6 separate regions of the Homo sapiens genome follow, and all the other regions are linked to region 1. The links are contacts of gene promoters, found by promoter capture Hi-C in blood cells and fetal thymus (Javierre and others, 2016). All regions are on one chromosome and are shown on one strand. The core of a region is centred on a gene start or on the middle of the fragment in contact, and the rest is flanking DNA. Distances in the headings are between cores, read along the strand shown. Region 1 holds the start of SSTR3 (somatostatin receptor 3). Region 2 holds the start of MFNG (MFNG O-fucosylpeptide 3-beta-N-acetylglucosaminyltransferase). Region 3 holds the start of LGALS2 (galectin 2). Region 4 holds the start of NCF4 (neutrophil cytosolic factor 4). Region 5 holds the start of PVALB (parvalbumin). Region 6 holds the start of CDC42EP1 (CDC42 effector protein 1).

Evidence for each region. The method cuts DNA at HindIII sites, captures the fragments that hold promoters and counts their contacts. A CHiCAGO score of 5 or more calls a contact.
Region 2: the fragment with the promoter of MFNG here is called in contact with the fragment with the promoter of SSTR3 in region 1 in 14 of 17 cell types (non-activated CD4 T cells, fetal thymus, activated CD4 T cells and 11 more); the score reaches 23.7 in non-activated CD4 T cells.
Region 3: a contact is called between the fragment with the promoter of LGALS2 here and the fragment with the promoter of SSTR3 in region 1, in 2 of 17 cell types (total CD4 T cells and neutrophils). The highest score is 6.1, in total CD4 T cells.
Region 4: a contact is called between the fragment with the promoter of NCF4 here and the fragment with the promoter of SSTR3 in region 1, in 7 of 17 cell types (endothelial precursors, neutrophils, monocytes and 4 more). The highest score is 9.9, in endothelial precursors.
Region 5: the fragment with the promoter of PVALB here is called in contact with the fragment with the promoter of SSTR3 in region 1 in 3 of 17 cell types (erythroblasts, monocytes and neutrophils); the score reaches 11.1 in erythroblasts.
Region 6: the fragment with the promoter of CDC42EP1 here is called in contact with the fragment with the promoter of SSTR3 in region 1 in 4 of 17 cell types (naive CD8 T cells, naive B cells, neutrophils and 1 more); the score reaches 10.0 in naive CD8 T cells.

Annotation. Positions count from the first base shown.
Region 1 is chr22:37,211,190-37,214,657 of GRCh38, reverse strand. SSTR3 (somatostatin receptor 3) reads left to right here and starts at 2,181. Exons shown (of 2, transcript NM_001051.5): 1 at 2,181-2,833. RefSeq lists an enhancer at 2,363-3,342. The HindIII fragment of the contact is 10,151 bases long and covers 1-2,539 here.
Region 2 is chr22:37,484,231-37,487,674 of GRCh38, reverse strand. MFNG (MFNG O-fucosylpeptide 3-beta-N-acetylglucosaminyltransferase) reads left to right here and starts at 1,291. Exons shown (of 8, transcript NM_002405.4): 1 at 1,291-1,752. The coding sequence starts at 1,498. RefSeq lists enhancers at 1-398, 399-910, 911-1,420, 1,897-1,946, 2,347-2,406 and 2 more and a silencer at 1,197-1,326. The HindIII fragment of the contact is 3,313 bases long and covers 910-3,444 here.
Region 3 is chr22:37,578,231-37,581,642 of GRCh38, reverse strand. It overlaps LGALS2 (galectin 2), which reads left to right and starts at 1,556. Exons shown (of 4, transcript NM_006498.3): 1 at 1,556-1,743. The coding sequence starts at 1,738. RefSeq lists a silencer at 1,170-1,229. The HindIII fragment of the contact is 11,270 bases long and covers 1-1,667 here.
Region 4 is chr22:36,858,844-36,862,255 of GRCh38, reverse strand. It overlaps NCF4 (neutrophil cytosolic factor 4), which reads right to left and starts at 1,250. Exons shown (of 10, transcript NM_000631.5): 1 at 1,053-1,250. The coding sequence starts at 1,084. All of the region lies in intron 1 of NCF4-AS1 (NCF4 antisense RNA 1), which reads left to right. The HindIII fragment of the contact is 9,996 bases long and covers 1-3,412 here.
Region 5 is chr22:36,815,560-36,818,800 of GRCh38, reverse strand. It overlaps PVALB (parvalbumin), which reads left to right and starts at 1,766. Exons shown (of 4, transcript NM_001315532.2): 1 at 1,766-1,856. The coding sequence starts at 1,796. The HindIII fragment of the contact is 33,107 bases long and covers 1-3,241 here.
Region 6 is chr22:37,558,973-37,562,201 of GRCh38, reverse strand. It overlaps CDC42EP1 (CDC42 effector protein 1), which reads right to left and starts at 1,722. Exons shown (of 3, transcript NM_152243.3): 1 at 1,614-1,722. RefSeq lists enhancers at 174-403, 1-479, 480-1,086. The HindIII fragment of the contact is 15,994 bases long and covers 1-3,229 here.

The sequences.
Region 1 (3,468 bases), core at 932-3,431:
GTGGGGTGGAGGAGGAAAAACCCTTCTTTACTGTCTTAGGGTCTCTGGCTGGGCTGAAGAATTAAACTGACATAAGGCAGATCAGCAGGAGAAAAACATACAGATTTCATTTACATGTACAAGGGAGCCCCCCCGCCTCCCGCCCAAATGACCAAGACCCAAAGAAGTGACTAGGCATAAAGGCTTTTGTACCAGGTTGAACATAGAATGGCAATTGTGTAACTAGGAAGATAAGGATTAAAAGATCTGTTCATACAGATTTCTTTTGGCCTCGACTCTCCTTATCTGGTAATGTCTTTCCTCCTCCTGGCATAGGGAGGGCGTCTTTCACAAGGCGTTTTAGCTCCTGCTTTCAGGAAGAAAAGGGGAGGTCAGAGCCCCCTTTCTGCACCTGCTGTTTCTGAAGTGCCTTTAGTGCAGAGAAATCAATATGCCAGAGTGGTGTATTCTGGGGTGGCGTGTCCTGAACCCCTTCAGTGGCCTGGCTCAGACGGGAGCCTGTGGATGGAGAGCAGTGGACGGGTTCCAGGCTGGAGCAGTAAGGCTCGGTGCTGGGGAGGTGTGTGGCAGGGGGCACACTGATGAGCATTCACTCCTTTAACCTTCGCAAGAACCCCCAGGCCAGGCAGTCAGGTGTGTACAATCTACTGAAGGAGAAAACCGAAGTTTAAGTTCAGTGCACGGCAGGGGTAGAGCTGGGGCTCAAACTCCCCTGTCCAGTCTTCAGCCCCTATACCCCAACCTGCAGGAATAAGTGAATGAATACATGAGGCTGGGTACGCCTGGGGCACAGAGGAGCGAGTGAAATCAGCAGAGGAGGAGGCCCGCGCAGGCGGCAGGAATCAAGGATGCAGTGCCAGGTGGGCTGCGGCGAGAGAGCTTTATTCTGAGGGCAGTGAGAAGCCGTGGGTAGGGGTGGGTGGTCAGTGCCATGGAAAACCCACCCTTGACCCTGAGGACACGCTCCCAGGAGCCCACCCACACCTCATGAACTTGTACGGACAAGGACAATGGGAGGCTGAGACCTGGAGCAAGGGCCTTGTCCCGGGCACAAGGCAAAGGGACGGGCAGCGTTAAGAGACCAGGCCGGCTCCGGCTGGAAGTGGGTGTGTCCTACTGTGTGCTGCCGCATGCATGGTGGCACCTCTGGATGCATTCAACTTCCAGTTCTCTGCAGTGCCAGGTACCTAGTGACAAAGGAGGTCCAGCCCTGGTCCCAGGGAATGGCCCAGTTTGGAAAGCAGCCTAGGTACAGCCTGGCACATAGTAGGTGCTCAGCCAAGACGTGTGTCCTTTTCCCTTCCGTCTCTGACTGTTCCTTTCCTTATCACTCCTGTGCTGAGGCAGGAATCAGCACAGGCAGGGGCACGGCATCCCAAGACATCTGGGCCTGTGCTCAGGACTGTACGGCAGAGTCTCTTAGACCAAAGATCAGTAAATATGGCCCACGGGGCAAATCCCACCCACTGCCTGTTTTTGTACAGCCTAGGAGCTGAGAATGGTTTTTACGGATGAACATTTGCAATCGGTTTGATGAAACACTAACTCTAAACTCCAATTAAGCAAAAGGTGATGTCTGTAAAAAGAACTCTATTCTTCTCATGAGTGGACCTACATTACAAAATACTGGCCTCAATTATTATTATTCTATTTTGAGTTTTGTCAGTTACAAAATAGTAAAAATCTGTTTTCTCACTGCACAATGATTTTGCCCTCAAAGCCTAAAATATTGGTTCTCTGTTCTGTCCTTCCACTCCTCACCCTGCCTGGGGCTCTCCAGATGTAACCAATCCCAGGACTAATGACCCCCACCCGGCCTCCCCAGTGGTCCGTGCTGCGGCCGGTGTGCCCGACTGCAGGGCTGGACTGTGGACTCCCGGGCTGGCCAGCCCCACACCCAGCCTTGCCTTGGGACACAGCTGCTGCCCCGGGGGACCTGTGCCGCAGTGGCCTCACGAGCTGCTCTGGCTACTGGCTGGCAGCCTCGGCTCCCCTGAGCACTGAGCACATTCTTCTCTCCAACTCCCTGCAGGAGCCAAGGCCAGCGGGCGTGGGTGGCTGAAATCTCCCCGGTAACAGGGTCTGCGCCCCTCCTGCTCCCTCTCCGGGCCTCCTCCCTTAACCTGCACCCCGCCCCCACCCCCCACACCTGCTCTCCGGCCCTCAGCCCCTCCCTGCTTACTCCCTCCTTCACGGGCTCCATGTCACCATCTGTGGCACAGTCCCTCTCTGTCACTCTCCCTGCCACCCCCTCATTCTCCTTCCTCCCTCCTGCCTCTCTCTGCATCTCTCCCTCTCACCCGTGTCTCCTCTCCTCTCTTTCCTTCTCGTCTTCTCCCTGTCACGCATCTCTCATCACTCCCCCTCATTCTGCCTTTCCTCCTACTCACGGTCTCCTCTCCCTCTCCCTCTCTCTCTCTCCCCCTCCCTCTTTCTCTCTCTCTCTCTTTCTCCACCTCCTCCCGACCCCCTTTCCCCTCTATTTCTATTGGCTTCTGTGTCCCTTGCTCCCCTCTTCTCTTCCTCACCCTGGGAAGCTTCTCCCCCCTATCCTTGCCCCTGCCCCCCCAGGATGTGTCCTGGAGATGGGGGGTGACGTACCAGGCTCTGGTTGGGAAGTCAGGGCCGGAGACCAGATGGGAGAGGCTCTGTGGACAGCCGTGGCCGAGGGCCTGGGAGGGAACCTGAGCCCGCAAGCGGTCTAGAAGTGGGTGCCTTGTGGGGACCCTAGTTAGGAGTGCCCTGGGGGCACCTGGGGACTGGGCAGGGAGAGGGGACAGCAGAATGATAACCAGCCTGGCGGCAAGGAGGGAAGCCCTCACCCCATGGGCAGGTAAGGAGGCTGGGGCCCGGATGATGTCCCGAAGGGTGGGGTCCTGGAAGCCCATCCTCTGCCCAGGATGAACTTGGGAGGCTGGGGCTGGGGAGGCAGAGGGTGGGGACTCCCAGGGAGGCAGGAGGGAGGCCTTCCTGTGACCTCCCGGTCGGCTGCAGGGGCAGGGGCGTTAGTCTCAGAATCTCGTGCCATGATTCTAGGATCTCGGAATCACAGAATCGCAGGCTGTCAGGGCTGGAGGGAGCCAGATGTATCATGTCGTTGGCTTCCCCAGCTCACGTGGCAGCTCTCCTGAGCTCCCCCTCCATACCCGGCACTGTGCTTGGCACGCCTCCGTTTAATCTCTGCAAACAACCCTGGGAGGTGGGTCCGCTTGTCTTCCATATGACGAAACTGAGGTGCAGCGGGGAGAAGTGACTTGCCCGAGGTCACACAGCAATTTGGCATCATCGCTGTGCAGCAGAGCCCAAGCCCCCAGCGCTGGGCCTGTAGGGTGTGCTCCTGGGATCAGGCCCCAGGCCTGGGGTGCCAGTGAGTCAGTCGGCACTGGCAAGCATAAGCCAGGTGTCTTTGGGGGGAAGGCCGAAGCATGTAGAGGACAAGCAGAGAGCCAGGGGCCATCGCCCTGCACT
Region 2 (3,444 bases), core at 42-2,541, 270 kb before region 1:
GGTCACTGTTCTAGGCACTGGGGATTAGGGACTCAGTGATCAAAAAATAAATCCTGCCCTGATATTCTCATGAGGAGGACAGAAACTTAGTTAAACATACAGAATGTTGGAAGATGAAAAGTGTGATGAAGAAAACAGTGAAGTGGCTTGAGAGGGACAGGCCTGGGGGGCTGGGAAGGAGGCGGCGAGGGGTTGCAATGTTAATAACGTGGTCAGGGAAGGCCTCACAGAGACGGTGACCTTTGTGTAAAGACCAGAAGGGAGTGGGGGAGTGAGACGTGCAGGTCTCTAGGGAGGGGCCCAGGTGGGAACAGCAAGTGCCAAGGTCCTGTGGCGGCCAGGTGCCTGGGCCAGCGAGGGTCCCAGGTTCTGGAGTGGAGCAGGGTGAGTAGCAGGAGATGGGGTGGGAGTAACTTGGGAGCCAGCTCACGCAGGGCCTTGTGGGCTGCTGTGTGCGTTTTGGCTTTTGTTCTGAAGAAAATGGGAGCCAGTGCAGGCTCTGAGTGGAGGAGGGAGGAGGTGTGAGTGAGCTTGTGCGAAACAAGATGGAGGTGGTGGCTGGAGAAGGCCCTCTGTCTGTCCACTGGTCAGGTGCTGGGAGAGAGGCAGCTCCAGAGACTGCGGAGTGAGGTCGGGTATGGGCTGGGGCACAGCTGGACAGGTGCCCTCAGGGGACCTCCTGTGAACTAGATGAGGAACAGAGACCTGGGTTCTGCCAGCTCTGCGGCTGAGTTGCTGGATCGTTTTTGCTCATTCTGTGCCTTTGTGCCTTATGTCTTCAGCTATAAACTGGGAACGACAGTCCCAGTGCTGTTGTGAAGACCTCAGGAACTGAGCGAACAACTGTGGGAGCCCCAGAGGTTAAGAGGTTATCACGGAAGGCTTCCTGGAGGAGGGAACCCTTAAGCTTTGAAGTCCAGATAGAACTCAGCCTAGTGGAGGGAATGTGGGTGAGGCTGGTGGAATATGGGAGAGCATCCCGGAGGAAACCTGTGAGCAAAAGCTGGGGGCTGGGTGAAGCAGGACACCAAAGTAATGGGTGTTGAATGGGCCGAGCTGACAGCTCTCTGGGGGAGTGGACGGTGCTGGAGGACACTCCCTTCCACCGGGCACGGAGGGTTTGTTGTGACTTCCTCCCACCGCAGCAGCTGGCAGAGCCGGGGCTGCCCTTTCTGCTGGTGCCTCCTTTCAGCCGCCTCTGTCTGGGGTTCCCTTCGTCTGGCCCCGCCCCTCGGGCTAAGCGGGGCGGGGCCAGGCGGTCCCGGAGGCTGCGGCAGGCCGGACAGCGGGAGCAGGTGGAGGACTGGCGGCGGTCGAGATCGTGCTGCCATGGCTCAGCCTCTGGGTCCAGAGCCTCAGCTCCTACCTCTTCCCTCCTTGCCAGCCCCTGATGCCTGCCAGACTTTTGCCTCTGCTGGAGCCCCTGCCTGACCAGCTTCCCCTCCCTGTCTGGTTGGGATTTGGGGGCTGAGCTGTCTGGGGTCCCAGGGCCAACCAATGCAGTGCCGGCTCCCGCGGGGCCTGGCTGGAGCCCTCCTCACCCTCCTGTGCATGGGGCTCCTGTGTCTGCGGTACCACTTGAACCTGTCCCCGCAGCGGGTACAAGGGACCCCCGAGCTGAGCCAGCCGAACCCGGGGCCCCCTAAGCTACAGCTACACGATGTCTTCATTGCAGTGAAGACGACCCGGGCTTTCCACCGCTTGCGCCTGGAGCTGCTGCTTGACACGTGGGTTTCCAGGACCAGGGAACAGGTGACAAGTGGGTGACATTGGGCCCTGGGGGTGGCCCCTGGCCTAAGGGGTTCTCAGAGGCCTTTCTACTGGGCTGGGGTCCCTGACTGCCTCATGGGAGAAGCTGCTCAATACCTGCCTAATCAGGGATCCTCTTCCTCTCTCCTTCTTCCGGGCTTTAGGGGCTGCCTGCGGCCCTGCCCGTGCCCTGTACTGGTCCTGACTCCAGGTGCACCCAGGTCCTACCGCTCCACCACTTTTGGGGGCCAGGCTGGGCCCCTGCTCCAGGCTCCCGGGTCCCTCCTGGGGGTTCTTCTATTCCTAGCCGCTCCCGTGGGGGCTTCGCTCCTAGCCACCCAGGCCCAGCCTGGCATCAGGGGTAATGGTGGGTGTTGGGCAGCTGGGGTGGAGGCCTCCAAGAGGTCCTGACCCAGACCCGTGCCCAGGCCAGGCTGTCCCACCCAGGCCCTAGGTGCTGTCCTGCCCGGGCTCTGAGGGTGGAGGACGGGAGGAGAATGGTGGGGTCTGTTCTTGGGGGAGGCATCCCTTCGGCCTTCCCGATAGCCCCTGCCGCTGTGTCTCTGCTGCCCCGGGTGTGCCGAGGCCGCCATGTCTGGCCTCCTGTGTTGGCTTCCTGCGGACTGCTTCCGAGGGAGGGAAGGAGAGCGCATGCCACGAGGGTGGCGGCTGAGGCAGTGGTGGGCCGGAGGTTGGGGAGGCCTGCCTGGCACGTGGGATTGTGTGTGTGTGTGTGTGTGTGCTCACACGCACGGAGCTGGAGTGTGCTAGATGTGTGTGACAAGAGGCATGTCTGTCACATGGCTGTGCGGCTCCGGCGAGCCAAGTCCCTTCCAGCCCTTTCCCTCCTCGCATCCAGTATCTTCCTTAAGCAAAGTTAGTGATGTCGGTGTTAGGGACCGTTGATGGGGGAGGTGGAGAATGGGTACACACACACACACACACACACACACATCGGTCCCCTCTTTGGCGGCTGGCTCAGTGGGAGGAAGTGACTGAGTCTTTGGAGATAGTCGAGACCTCCTGGAAGACCAAAAGGAGGGGGAGAGGATGGCTGGCAGAGGCCAGGCCCTCCTGGGGAGGGGCACCCTGCCCTGATTTCTGCCCTCGTACTTGGGATTAACTCTTCCCCAGCTGGCCCCCAGCACCTCAGCTCTTCTCTGGGCCCCACACGGCTTCTCATCTTGGGGAGATCCTGGTTCTTCCTGCGGAAGCAGCCAAGGCGGGCCCTCCCGCAGGCCTTCCTGTTTATGCGTCTGTGTACCCGGGAGCGTGGCCTCACGTGGCCCACGGCCCTTTCCTGTCTTATCTCCATCACCGCGGTGGTGCCCTTGCCCCGGATGAGGAAACTGAGGCCAGAGAGAGGAAGTGCTGGCTGGCGTGGTGTCACGCAGAAGGCCTGAGGGGACAGAGCCCAGTGGGACCTAGAACCTTGCTCCTGGTTGGGTGCTTTTCTCCCCTGCTGAGACTTGGGAACCCTGTGAGGACTGGGTCACTGGGCTACAGGAGTCGCTACCCCACGTCTCTCACCCTTTGGCTCACTTCTCTCTGTGACCTCAGCCAAGGCCCTCCCCTTTCGGCCCGCAGTTTCCCCATCTGCACGGGGCAGGAGTGTCTGGACCGGGCCTGAGCTGGTTAACTGCAGCGCTGGGCGCCCGCCTGGCTGGTTAAGGGCGGTCGGGTGGCAGGTGGGCC
Region 3 (3,412 bases), core at 307-2,806, 370 kb before region 1:
GCCAACTCTGATGGAAAACGCTCTGGCTCGCCAAATCCTGAGCTCTAGAAAAGTTCTCCTTCTGGGAATCTGCCCTACATAAGTTGTCACGATGCAGCCAAAGTTTATGTCCAAATAGATTTAATGCAGCAGTATTTTTAATAGCAAAAATGTAGAATTAATGTGAGTGTTCAGCAGAAGGAAATTGGTTAAATAAATTCAGTCGTTGAAAGGTAGACTATTTCGCAGGCATTAAAGTATGGTTCTGAAATATAGATTTGTGGTCTTTAATGTTTCCCAAATGAAGAGAGATAAACAATTGCACAGACAGAGGGGTGTCTATAATGTAAATCTGTGGAGAACCGCCTGGAAGGAAATGTGCCAACAGCGTAAGCCAGTTCCCTCGTGGCGGTGGCATTATGAGTGATTATTTTTCTTTTTATTTAATATCTCTAATTGTCTATAGTAAGCATGCCAGTTACATAAGTAACAGAAGTCAAGAGCAAAGCATTTTCATCCTCCATGTCCCCCACTCAGCCCTCCCACTCCTTCTGCACTTTTATTTATTTTTTATTTTTTTATTTGAGACGGAGCCTCACTCTGTCGCCCAGGCTGGAGTGTAGTGGCGCGATCTTAGCTCCCTGTAACCTCCACCTCCCGGGTTCAAGCGATTCTCCTGCCTCAGCCTCTTGAGCAGCTGTGACTACAGGTGCGACCACGCCCAGCTAATTTTTGTATTTTTAGTAGAGATGGGGTTTCACCATGTTGGCCGGGCTGGTCACAAACTCCTGACTTCAGGTGATCCGCCTGCCTTGGCCTCCCAAAGTGCTGGGATTACAGGCTTAAGCAACCGCGCCCAGCTCTCCTCTGCTTTTGACCATTTGTTGTAAATAGTTTGAAATCTTTTCTTTGAATCCGTGTATTGGTTTTGAAACCTACATGTCCGATCAGATAAATAATATGGGGAGGGAAGAAGAAAACATAATGCTCTCTGACAATGAATCATAACATCATAGAAAATTAGAACCTTAGGCCAGGCGCAATGGCTCACGCCTGTAATCCCAGCACTTTGGGAGGCCAAGGTGGGCAGATCACGAGGTCAGGAGATCGAGACCATCCTGGCTAATACGGTGAAACCTCGTCTCTACTAAAAATACCAAAAAATTAGCCGGGCATGGTGGCGGGTGCCTGTAGTTCCAGCTACTCGGGAGGCTGAGGCAGCAGAATGGTGTGAACCCAGGAGATTGCATTGAGCGGAGATCGTTGCCACTGCACTCCAGCCTGGGTGACAGAGTGAGACTCTGTCTCAAAAAAAAAAAAAAAAGAAAATTAGAAACCTAGACTTTTTTTTTTTTTTGCAAAGCAAATCTCTCTTTTTACAGGCAAGGAAGCTGGGCTAAGTGAGGGAGGCTGGGAGAGCTGTCAAGCGGCTGCATTGCGGTTTGTGTGGGGGCAGAGCTGGGGCTGCTTCCCCTCTCGGGCTCTGGGAGCGCTGAGGAGGGGGAGGCTGGGCTGGAGGGAGGCCAGGAGGATGCTCCGGGCTGGGTGGGGTGGAGCTGGCTGAGGAGTCTTCTGCCTGTTTGTGCTGGGTACTGGGAGATGCAGGCGGGGAGACACAAGGTAGAAGGGGCAAAGTCCTCACCTAGGACCTTGAGGGAGTTAATGTGTAATATTCTAGGATATAAGCTTGACCACGAGTTGAGACCCTGAGCACAGGCCTCCAGGAGCCGCTGGGAGCTGCCGCCAGGAGCTGTCACCATGACGGTGAGGACACTAGCCCCCTGCTGCCTGCCCCACTCTGTTCATCTTTGTCTTTGCCTGGGTGGGGGCTTTTAGGGAAAACCATTGCTGTCCCTCTCTGGGCCTCAGTTTCCCCATCTGTGCAGCAAAGAAGTTGGACAGAGGTCTTTTTTTAAAAAACAGCATCTTGGGCCAGGCGTGGTGGCTCCTGCTTGTAATCCCAGCACTTTGGGAGGCCGAGGCTGGTGGATCATCTGAGGTTGGGAGTTTGAGACCAGCCTGACCAACATGGAGAAACCCCGTCTCTACTAAAAAAATACAAAATTGGCTAGGCCTGGTGGCACATGCCTGTAATCCCAGCTAATGGGGAGGCTGAGGCAGGAGAATCACTTGGACCTGGGAGGCAGAGGTTATGGTGAGCCGAGATTGTGCCATTGCACTCCAGCCTGGGCAACAAGAGTGAGACTCCATCTCAAAACAACAACAACAATACAGCATCTTGCTCTGTCACCAGGTGGAGTGCAGTGGTGGCAATCATAACTCACTACGGACTTGACCTCCTTGGCTTAAATGATCCTCCCACCTCAGCCTCTTGAGTAGCTGGGACCCCAGGCACTCACTACCACACTGGCTAATTTTGTTTGTTTCTTTTCTTTCTCTTTTTTTTTTTTTTTTTGAGATGGAGTCTCGCTCTGTTGCCCAGGCTGGAGTGCAGTGGCCCGATCTCAGCTCACTGCAACCTCTGCTGCCTGGGTTCAAGCAATTCTCTGGTCTCAGCCTCCCAAGTAGCTGGGATTACAGGTATGTGTCACCACACCTGGCTAATTTTTTTTTTTTTGTTGAGATGGAGTTTCTGTTGCCCAGGCTGGAGTGCAATGGCACGATCTCGGCTCACCACAACTTCCACCTCCCAGGTTCAAGCGATTCTCCTGCCTCAGCCTCCTGAGTAGCAGGGATTACAGGCATGGGCCACCACACCCGATTAATTTTGTATTTTTAGTAGAGATGGGGTTTCTCCATGTTGGTCAGGCTGGTCTTGAACTCCTGATCTCAGGTGATCCACCTGCCTTGGCCTCCCAAAGTGCTGGGATTACAGGTGTGAGCCACTGCTCCTGGCCTAATTTTTGTATTTTTAAAGTAGAGACAGGGTTTCACCATGTTGGTCAGGCTGATCTCGAACTCCTGACCTCAGGTGATCCGCCCACCTTGGCCTCCCAAAGTGCTGGGATTACAGGTGTGAGCCACCCCACCCAGCTTATTTCTTATTTTTCGTAGAGATGAGGTCTCACTATGTTGCTCAGGCTGATATCAAACTCCTGGGTTCAAGGGATCCTCCTGCCTTGGCCTCTCGAAGTGCTGAGATTACAGGTGTGAGCCACTGTGCCTGGCCTCCATTGATCTTTATAGAGATAAAAAAAAATCTCAGCTTGGGCAATATAGTGAGACCTTTTCTGCTACAGGTGCATGCCACTACGCTTTGCCTTAAAAAATTAGTGGGGGTAGCGGCACACTCCTCAGCCTTGGGAGGCTGAGGATCACTTGAGCCCAGGAGGTCGAGGCTACAGTGAGCCGTAATTGCACTACTGTACTCCAGCCTGGGCAACAGAGTGAGACCTTGTCTCATATACCCACACACAAAACCCAAGTCTTGGAGAGCAAATTGCCCAAGGCCACAAGCTGCAAATCACAAGGG
Region 4 (3,412 bases), core at 1-2,500, 350 kb after region 1:
TGTTCCCCGCGTAGGCACACACCAGCCTGGCCTGTCTCTGGTGACCCCCTGAGTGGCCTCCACGTAGGTAACAGAGGTCACCTGCTGTTCCAATCCAGGGGGTGCAGGGGCCAGGCTTTGCGTCCTCAGGGCCCCCGCAGCTTAGAGCTCAGACCTGGCTACTGAGGAAAAATTCTGAAAATGCTTCCCAAGCGACGAGGCTAGATGCTGGTGAGGCCGTGCTCCAAGCCCCAACCTTGCCAGTCACTCTCTGTGACCCTGAGTAAGTCTCTTATCCTCCCTGGGCCTCAGATTTCCAATCTGTACAATGGCAAGGTTGGACTAGAAGAATCTAAGACCTTTTCCGTCTCAAAGATCCACCCATTCATTCATTCATTTATTCATTCATTCAGCAACATTTATTGAGCCCTTGGTCCTGGTGCTCAATAGGGATGAGCTACCTCCTAGTGATACAGCAGCGATCAAAACGGACACAGCCTCGTGGAGCTTGCTTCTCATGGGGGAGCCAACGTTCAAGAAAAAATAATAAATGAGCATATAATATTATTCCTGTAATATAAGAACCAGGCAGAAAAGGGAAATAGGGCAAAGGGTCAGACAGCAATGAGGTAGGGGCTGTCAGGAAGGCTTCTTGGAGGAGGTGACATTTGAGGCAAGCCCTGATTAGCGGAAGAACAAGCCAGATTCTGTGAATTCTGTTTGCGCAGAAGATGGAAAGTCATTGCTGATCACCATGTGAAGCAAAGGGCCCCAGCCTGGGACCCAGGACACCTGCATTCCTCTCCAGACACTGCCGGTCACTCGTTGTGTGACCGTGGGCAAGTCACTCCCACTCTTGGAGCCTCAGTGTTCTCATTTGTGTCTGAGGGTGGTGAGCCACAGCTCAAAGTTTCGTTAAAGCAGTTCTGAGAGGTTGCATTTCTGAGTATTTGGGTTCTGACTCAACCCCAGCCTCTCATGTTGATCAGGGACTGCAGAAGGACTGGCCTTTGTCCCTAAGGCCTATGAGGAGCAGTGAGAAGGCCCGGGGGCGGCCACACCCCGGCACTCACCTCTCGGCCCGCAGCTGCTGGGCCACAGCCATGGTGGGCGATGGTCCCAGGGAGCAGGTGGAGAGTCTCGCCCAGCCAGTCCCAGGCTGAGTTCACCTCTCACTTCCTCCAGCCACCCTGCGTCTCGTCTCAGCCTGTGGTCCTGGGAGTCCCCAGGAGCTGCCTTTGGGGAGGCTCAGGCCTGCTTCTCTCCAGTCTGGCAGAGGCTCCTCCTCCAGGCTCTCTGGGCCTAGCCTGTGGCCCACACTTCCTCTTACCTCACCTCCCAGCTGCACAGAAATTGAGGAAGTGGACCCTCGGGTGCCAGGTTTGCAGGAATCCACTTCCTTGATGTCAGTCCTTGGCGCCAAGCCTCAGTTGGGTATCAGAAGCCTTGCTCCATCAGAGATGGGGTCCCAGCCATCAGGGTGTCTTGTGACCTTGAGGAGTCACTTATCCTCTGGCCCATCAAGCCCCACCTTTATTCTCTTACTGCCAAGCCTTTGCCCAAACTCTTCCCCAGGCCTAGAATGCTGGCCTCCATTTTCCTGTGATCTCTTAGGCCCAGAGTAAATGCCACCTCCTCCAGGAAGCCCTCCTGGTTCCTCTGGCCTCTGTCTTCCTAGAGTGTGAAGTTTGGTTTGCGCGCCCTGGCACTCTGGGATATCCTTTCCTCATCCTTAGATCTCCATGCCCAGCCAATCCTCTTTCACAGGGCTGCCAATCAGAGTGAGTTTCACCCTCCCTGCTTAAACTCTCCTGCCCCATCACCCTGTGCTCAGGATAAAGTCCAGAGTCCTTGCCCTGCCTGCCTCCAATGCCCCTGAGGCCCTGCAGCCTTCCCCAGCCTCTGCTCCTGAGCTCCCTTTTTCTCACTGGCCTCCTTTCCGTTTCTAGAATGTTCTAAGACGTCCGCCCCAAGGCCTATGCTCATGGTGTTCCCTCTGCTGGAAAAAGCTCTTCACTGCCTCCTTTGCATCTCAGCTTAGAAGCTACATCTTTAGCGAGGCCTTCCCTGACCACACACCCTAAATTAAGGCCCTCCCTACTACATTCTCTCACAGGTCCCTGCACGTCTACTGCAGAGCACTCATAACTATTGTCATCTCACATTTGTTTGTTTATCTGTATGTTTAATGACTGCCTCCTTGGCTAGCAGCGTGCCTGGCACATTGCAAGTGCTCAACCAATATTCAGTGAATGAATGAAACGCTGCCAGTCAGTGACTGCAGCTCCTAACAGGTATGGGTATTTGATTCTGAAGGGACTTCTCTGAGAAGAGGTCCACAGGAGTCATTGGCACAGCCACACCCAGTAACTCCCTGCCAGCTACACACGCTCACACACTCGTATTCATACATGCAGAGCAGAAAGTTGTTTTAAACTACTTTAAACATACAAGTCCCAGCTAAAAAAAACAAGAAAGCATAATTTTTAGGTAGGATCAAAGAGAGGGGTCAGGAATCTATACCAGGGGGAGAGGAACGTGGCCAACAGCCCATGGGAAAACCAAGATTGGATATGCATTGTTGGGCTGAGATTTTAATGCCAAATCTGGGACTAGGTACAGGCCACAGGTCCTGCTGTTAGCAGAAAGTCAAATCTGAGTTCTCAGTGTAAAGTGGGTGTCAGAACTGATTATGGGAACAGAGTTTCTCAGCCATCAGCCTAGAGTCACGGCAGGAGCTGAGGTCCTCTCACAGTCCATGGGTGGAACAAGGGACGTGTGTACCAGATCAGCCTCAAGCCTGCCCTCTGCACTGGTGTAAGGCCCCGATATAAGCTACCCACGTGGTGCAGAAATCCTAAGCTGAGGCATTATATAAAAACAGCTTGGAGTCAGTGACTCTGCAGGGCCTACTCTGTCAACTCACAGACCAAAACTACAAATCGTGAGCTGTGAAAGACAGCTCAGAGCCTCCACATCATGAAGAATTCACACCCAAAGAACTAGAAATAATACAAACAATAAGTCTGATGAGTTGCTGGTGTCTCGGGGCTCCCAGGCTAGAGGATGAAATGAAACACAGAGCAGGGTTATTAGTGCAGGTGTCTGTAAGTACCAACAGGTGCAAGCACACAGCCATAACTGAGGGAAGAGGAGGACATTGGCCTACAGTTGGTCAGGAAGGACAGGAAGTGGCAAAACAATTTTAGCAAGCAAGCATGATACAGAATTTGTAGGTGATTGTGTAAACTGTGTGTGTAGTATATGCCTATAGTTGGAAACACATATTTGTGTATAAACACATACAGCTCGCATAGGCAAGTGTAAGTGCATTTGTGTTGTGTCTATAAAAGACCATATAATGTGTATAGTGGTGGCATTGTGGCTGTGAGAGAATGTGTTTAGATGTTTAGGTTGCAGTCGGTGACAAATG
Region 5 (3,241 bases), core at 517-3,016, 400 kb after region 1:
CCTGCTCTGCTATTGCTTTACCATGTGTCCTTAGACCATTCACGGACTCTGTGCCTCCGTTTCTCCACTGGTATAGCTGAAGCGTCCTTCAGCTGGGGAAATCCATTCTCCAACTAGGCTCCTGGAGTGAGCTGAGCCTGGGAGTTGAAATGATAGCATAGGAGCCTGGCATATCTGAGTCAGCAGCCCAGCTGGGGACAAGGTGCAGAGGTGACGGCAGTAGCAGCAGGGTCCAGGGCAGCTGAGGGGTCCTGGGAAGTCCTGGAGCTGAGAGGCATCAGGTCAGGAGCTGCATCCTTGGTGCCTTGGAAGCCATCTGGCGGGCTGTGGCTTGAAGGAGCTGACTCACAGGGAGGGGGCAGCTGGAGCCAGCAGAGGTATCCTAAGGTTTCCAGGAAGGGCAGCCATCCAGGGCTGAGCTGCAGGAGACAATGTTGACAGCGATGTCAGGGAACTTGAGTTACTGGGCAGCTGGACAGCTGCTCTCCCTGGTCCCCACCACCCAGGGCCACCACAGCCCAAGGCCCTGCCTACCTGCCAATACCTTAAGTTGCAGTCCCCAGGTCCCACTACATGGGACCACTGACGTCATCAACACATCAGAAGGAGACAGAAGCCCAGAGAAGGTCACAACCCAAGGTCACACTGGGACTTAGTGCAGCCCAGGATCTAGAACCCAGGCCTCCTGACTCCCTGTCCAGCGCTCACACACTCTAGAAGCAGCTGGTTGCAGCTTGAAACCTTGGGAACCATGGGGAAGAACACAACGGGTCTCTGGCTGCATACAGATAGGCACCGTGACATTTTTCCAGAGGTGAAGTTCAGACCCCTACACCTGCTTAGGTTGTCTAGAAAGTGTGGTCTGAAGGTGCTACCCTTCTTCCAAACACATATGGGGCTTTCTGGGAGGGAGCATAGCAATTCCAAGCGGACTCTCCCACCCTACTCTGCCCAAAAAAGGTTTATAGGAGTAGGGGGAGTCTGGACCCATGATGCCAGGACCCAGGAGACCAGGAAAGCAAGTAGTTAGTAGAGATCTGAGAAGTGTTCTTCGAAAAATCAAGCCAGCAAAAAAATAAAAAATAAAAGTAAAACATCAAATCAGGTTTTAGAATATGCATCCCTGGCCAGATGTGGGATGGGGCACCCGAAGTGGGCCCCAGCAGCTCCTGCCTGTCCCTGTCCCTGTCCCTGCCACCTCCTCCCTGCGTCGGGTGGGTCAGGTTTCAGGACCTCAGCGCTCAGATTTTGCAGCATAAATTTGCATCCAGGACAGACCAGAGCAGAGGCTGAGGTAGGAGTGGAGAGAGAAAGGGAGCAGGGCCTAGGAGGTCCTGAGGTGCAGGCTGGCCGCTGAAGGTTCAGGATCTTCCCCCACGCGGCAGGACATCCGCCAAGGTTCCCAGATCTGAGACGGCGCACCTCCTGCGTGTCCTTGACGGCAGGTGGACTTTCCAGACCCAGCTGGTGACGCCAGTGCCCCCTAAATCCCAGAGGTGGCCCCTTCCCTCGTGCCCTGGCCGCAGCCCCTGGGATCCCGCGGACCCCTGGCCTGGCGGTGCAGGAGTGGTAGCAGGTCCGCGCGCCTTCTTGCCGGCGGCCGGCGCTGCTCAGCGGCGCGGCTGGACTGAGCCGCTCCCGCTGCGCTCAGAGTCCGGGCCCCTGGCGCCATGCCAGGCCCGGCGGGCGTGCGCCCGGCGCGCAGCACTGCAGCGCTGGTCATATGAGCAGAAATGATGAGAAAAGCACTTTTTAATCTTTTCGCACTTGCTCTGCCCGCTCAAACAGTTGCAGGATGTCGATGACAGACTTGCTGAACGCTGAGGACATCAAGAAGGCGGTGGGAGCCTTTAGCGGTGAGCAAGCGCGCTCCCCTCCCCATCCCTCTCCCCTCGTCCACCGCCCGCGCCCCTGCACTCCGCCGGCCCCGCAGCCGGCGGATCCTCCCCAGCGCGCTTCTGCCCACACTTCCCGCTGGGCGCCGGCGAGGTCGGGGCGGGGGCGTCCTTGGCAGTTCCCAAACTCTGTCCGGGCGAGGCTTGGCGCGGGGAGCGGGCGGGGAAGAGGGCGCCCCGCCTAAGTTACAGAAACTTGAGGGTGCTGAAGGCCCGGTGGCTGGGAGGACTCAGGGTCCGGGACCAAGGGCGAAGACCAGGGTCGGAGGAGAGACCTCCAGGGTCCTTGTACGAGCTCTCTGGACGTCCTCTTTAAGGCACTTAGAGGGGACTGCAGGGGGCATCCTCCTCTCCAAGAGACCCCTTTCCTGGACCCTCATTCTGGACAGGACTTTTCCCGCCAGGCGGTAGCCTTTGTTGGCCCCCTGACTGTCCTAGTTCCTTTACTGAGATTCAGCAACGGACCTGCGGGCGAGGTGACCTTCTGGAGCCGGCGCACAGCTCTGCCTAAGCCCGCACGGGGCATCCTCAGTGCCTCAAACCTCCAGCCTCCTTAGGCGGGCAGGGGAGGGGAACTGGCAGTCTCACCTCTCCCAGCTGCCCGGGACTTCAGCGCTAAGCTGCCCGCCTTCCTCCTCCCCTGTCCTCCAGATGGGGAAATCAGGGAACTGTCTTGGAGAGGACAAGACATTTGCCCAAGGTCACCTAGCTGGGCAGAAGGGGTATTAGAACTGGGTTGCCCAGCCTAGTGTCGGAGGTGGACAGGGCAACTTTCCTTGTCTCTAGCCCTGTGCTGAGGGGAAGAGAACATGACTTCAACAGCCATTCCCTACACACACACACACACACACACACACACAAAATACATGATCTAACATTGTACCCTTCCCCAGGTGTTCTAAAACAGGACCCCAAGATACAGAAAATTGCAGGTAGAAAAGGACCCCCATTTCCTTTCTGCTTTGCACCCCCTCCCCTGGGCACAAGAACCTCTCTGGGAAGCCACCCTCCCAGGGTCCTGGGATAACCCTCTCCCTTCACCTCAAGCCCATGTGGGAAGAAACTTAACTGGGTGTTTCTCGGGAGCCTCCTAACACCCCCTTCCCACTGCCTCCGAAGTGGATTTCTGCGCAGAGCCAGGACTTCCGGGTTTGCCCCTCCTCCTCCCACTGTATGACCTTGAGGGAAACCTGTCCTTTCTATGTCAATTTTCTGGCAACAAAGTCTGTGGCCAAGAAAGAAGGTCAACCCTCCTCCCCCTAACCCCAGGACCATGTTCATGCCCCCTTCAATTCCCCAGCCCACTCCCAACCAGCTGGCACTCAAAAGTCTTCCTGGGCACAAGG
Region 6 (3,229 bases), core at 473-2,972, 350 kb before region 1:
TAAATGCCCCAGGGTGGGGGTGAAGACGATGGGGAATGGGGAAGACGATTTGGAGGGCTTGGATGCCCAGTGCTGAGCCCGGTGTGGGGTGCAGGTGCAGGCCTGGGAAGACAGGAGACCCAGCTCTGCAGATTCACTGCCTGTGACCTGGGCAAGGAGGTCACCACACAGCCTCAGTGTCCTTGGAGTCCTTATATTTACCCTATAGAGGATAGTCAGGGCCTGGGCACATGGCCTGAGCTCACTCAATGGTGGGAATGACGCAAGAACAAGTTTTGGAGCCGGGATCGGGCCAACAGGGGTCGCTGTGGAGGCACATGTGGTCGCGGGGAGGCCAAGGGCGGGTCTGAAGGAGAGCGGGGGCGGCTGCACCCTGGCATTCACCTGGGGGTCACCCGCAGGCCGCAGTGCTGGCCAGGGGCCCACGTCTCATCCTGGAGGCCACTGCTCGGGTGCACACAGCCCACTTCCTGCGGGCATCCAGCTGGGTGACGCCCCCCCCCACCGCTGGACAGCGGGTCCCTGTCATGGTTACGGCAGCTCCCCCAAACCTGCTCTGGTCCCTGGAATAAGGGGTTAAACCGGTCGGCTGACTTCTCCTGCTCCTCAAAGTCCAGACGCTTCAAGGTGGAGAGACGGGGAAACTGAGGCCAGAACGGGGTAGCTAGTTGTTCGCAGTCGCGCTAGGGGACCCGGTCCTCCGTATTCCAAGGGGGGCACCGTGGGCCATTAGGGAGCGACGGGGAAAGTGGAAAGGAGACGCGCTTCGTGCCCACCGCCCCGAGTTAGAGCCGAACCAGCCCGGGACCGAGCGAGACGGAGCGGCTGCGGGCCGCGTCTCGGGTCCCCGCGCCACGTTTAGTGCCGCTGCGGCCTCCCGGCCAGTCCCCCCTACTCTCTAAGCCTCAGTTTCCCGGTCTAGGAAAAGGGCTTCGAATGTTGCGGGTCTGGCACTGCTGGGGCAAAGGCAGAACAATCTGGAGGGCGGCCGGGATTGGAAGTCCGGGAAAGACTTCGGCCATCCAACATTCCCTGGGGGGACGGGGCTCAGGACGCGGAGGGTCGCTCCGCGGGGGAAGGGGACGACCGGCTGTCTTGGCCGGAGGGGAACCGGACGGGATGACCTCATCCGCGGCTCCAGCCTGGAATGCGGCGGTCGGGGAGGGGGGCAGGGTGCCTGTCCATCTCCCCGGGCCCCCCACCCCCCACTTCCCGCTCTCCGCGTGGGCCTCGGCGGAGGGGAGACATTCCGCCGCGTCGCCCGCTGCCCGCCCCGGCCCTTCCTTCCCCCGCGCAGGAAGGCGCGGAGACAGCCCCCGCTCTGCCCCTCGGCTCGCCCCCTCCTCGCGCATTTTGGCCGCTCAGCCGTGTCCGATCCTCTGCCCCCTCCACCAGCCTGGAACGGGACACGAAGCCCGAAAGCTCGGAGTTTCCTCGCGCGGCTCCGCGGCCGCGCCCGGCCTTCCTGTGGGCACCCGGGGGCGCCTCTCCCGGGCGGGTCCCGTCCCCGTTCCGGCCCCGGGAGCCTAGTAGGGTGCAGAGTCCCCGCGGGCGCCGGGACCCGCCGGCCTCCACGGCCTCCGCCCCGAGGACCCGCGCGCCCGGGCTGTTACCTGGCTCCGCGAGCCCCGGGGGCGCGGGACGAGGGCGGACTCGTCGTCTGCAGCGGCGGCGGCCGCGCGTCCCGGCTGGCAGCCCGGGAGAGTCGCTGGGCCGGTCTGCGCCGCCCTGGCCGCGGGCTCCGCGGGCTGGATCCGGGGGCGGGGGCGGGGTGTGGGCGCTCCCGCCTCCCGCCCGTCTCCTCCCGCCCGCGGGCGGGGCCCGGCCCCCTCCCCGGCCCCCTCCCCGGCACCGTCCTCGCGGCCGCCGAGAGCTGGCAGGGACGCGGCTGGGGGGCCAGGCCAGGCCTCTGCTCGCCACCCCGGACAAGGCCAGCCGGGGAACGTGCGGGCTGCCCCGGGGAGGCGACTCCGGTCCCCGGCCGCCAACCCCTCTTCCACCGGTTCCCCTCGTGGCCTTGCTTGGGGCGTCCAGGCCTGATGAACTCTCCTCCCTCCTGGGCCCTCCAGCCGCGCCCTGCGGGAGTTCGGGGAACCGGGAAGCTCGATCTGAGGCCTTGAATGCCTGGGCCTTTAAACCTTGATGTTTACAGGCATGACATGCCCACTCCTTTGCTCCCCATTCTCATTCCCTTCCATCCGGTACAGGCCCCGCGGTGCCCAGGAGGAAGACAGCCATACTGGGGCGACTGGTAGAGTGGGGTAGAGTGGCCGTCAAGACCGGGACCCTGGAGCCGGACAGCCTGGGCTCCTGTCCTGCCTCAGTCACTACTTACCTTTCTCTGCCTCAGTTTCCTGATCTGAAAGTGGGATAGATAATAGCAGCATCAGATGTTGTGTGAAGTGTTTCCTGCTCCAAGAGCACCTAGGAGGCTTGCTCGGCAGGTAAATGAAGTCGCATCTCAGAGACTTTACAGACCCTCCCCCCACCCCGCCCACCTCCATGGAGGGCAGGGAATCAGCCATACCCGGGACCCTGTGCCATCCTCAAGGAGGGGAGATAGATCTCTGGCCCCTGCCTCCCGTTGTTGTGCCCTCCTTTGACTACTCCCATCTGACTATAGAGTCCTCGGGCTGTCAGGGCACAGAGAGGTCCCTAATACTTCCTGCAGGGCCTGGGGGCTCAGGAAATCTTCCTAGAGGAGATGATACCTGAGTTAAGTCTCTCTCTCTCTCTTTTTTTTTTTTTTTTTTTTTTTTTTTTTTTTTTTTTTTTTTTTGAGACGGAGTCTCTCTCTGTTGCTCAGGCTGGAGTGCCATGGCATGATCTCAGCTCACTGCAGCTTCCACCTCCCGGGTTCAAGCGATTCTCCCTCCTAAGCCTCCGGACTAGCTGGGATTACAGGCACCCACCCACGCCCGGCTAATTTTTGTATTTTTTAGTAGAGAGGGGGCTTCACCATGTTGGCCAGGCTGGTCTTGAACTCCTTACCTCAGGTGATCCGCCTGCCTTGGCCTCCTCAAGTGCTAGGATTATGGGTGTGAGCCACTGCATGGTTGTGAGTTAAGTCTTAAAGGACGTGTAGGCAGAGGGAAGGGCAGTGGAAATGCACAGTGCACAGCTGGCAAGGGACAGCACAGCAAAGGCTGGGAGTGGAGGACCCTGCAGCGGAGGCAAACCCGGCTGAAGGAGACTGGCTGAGCGCTGTTGTGGCCGGGGATGAGGAGCT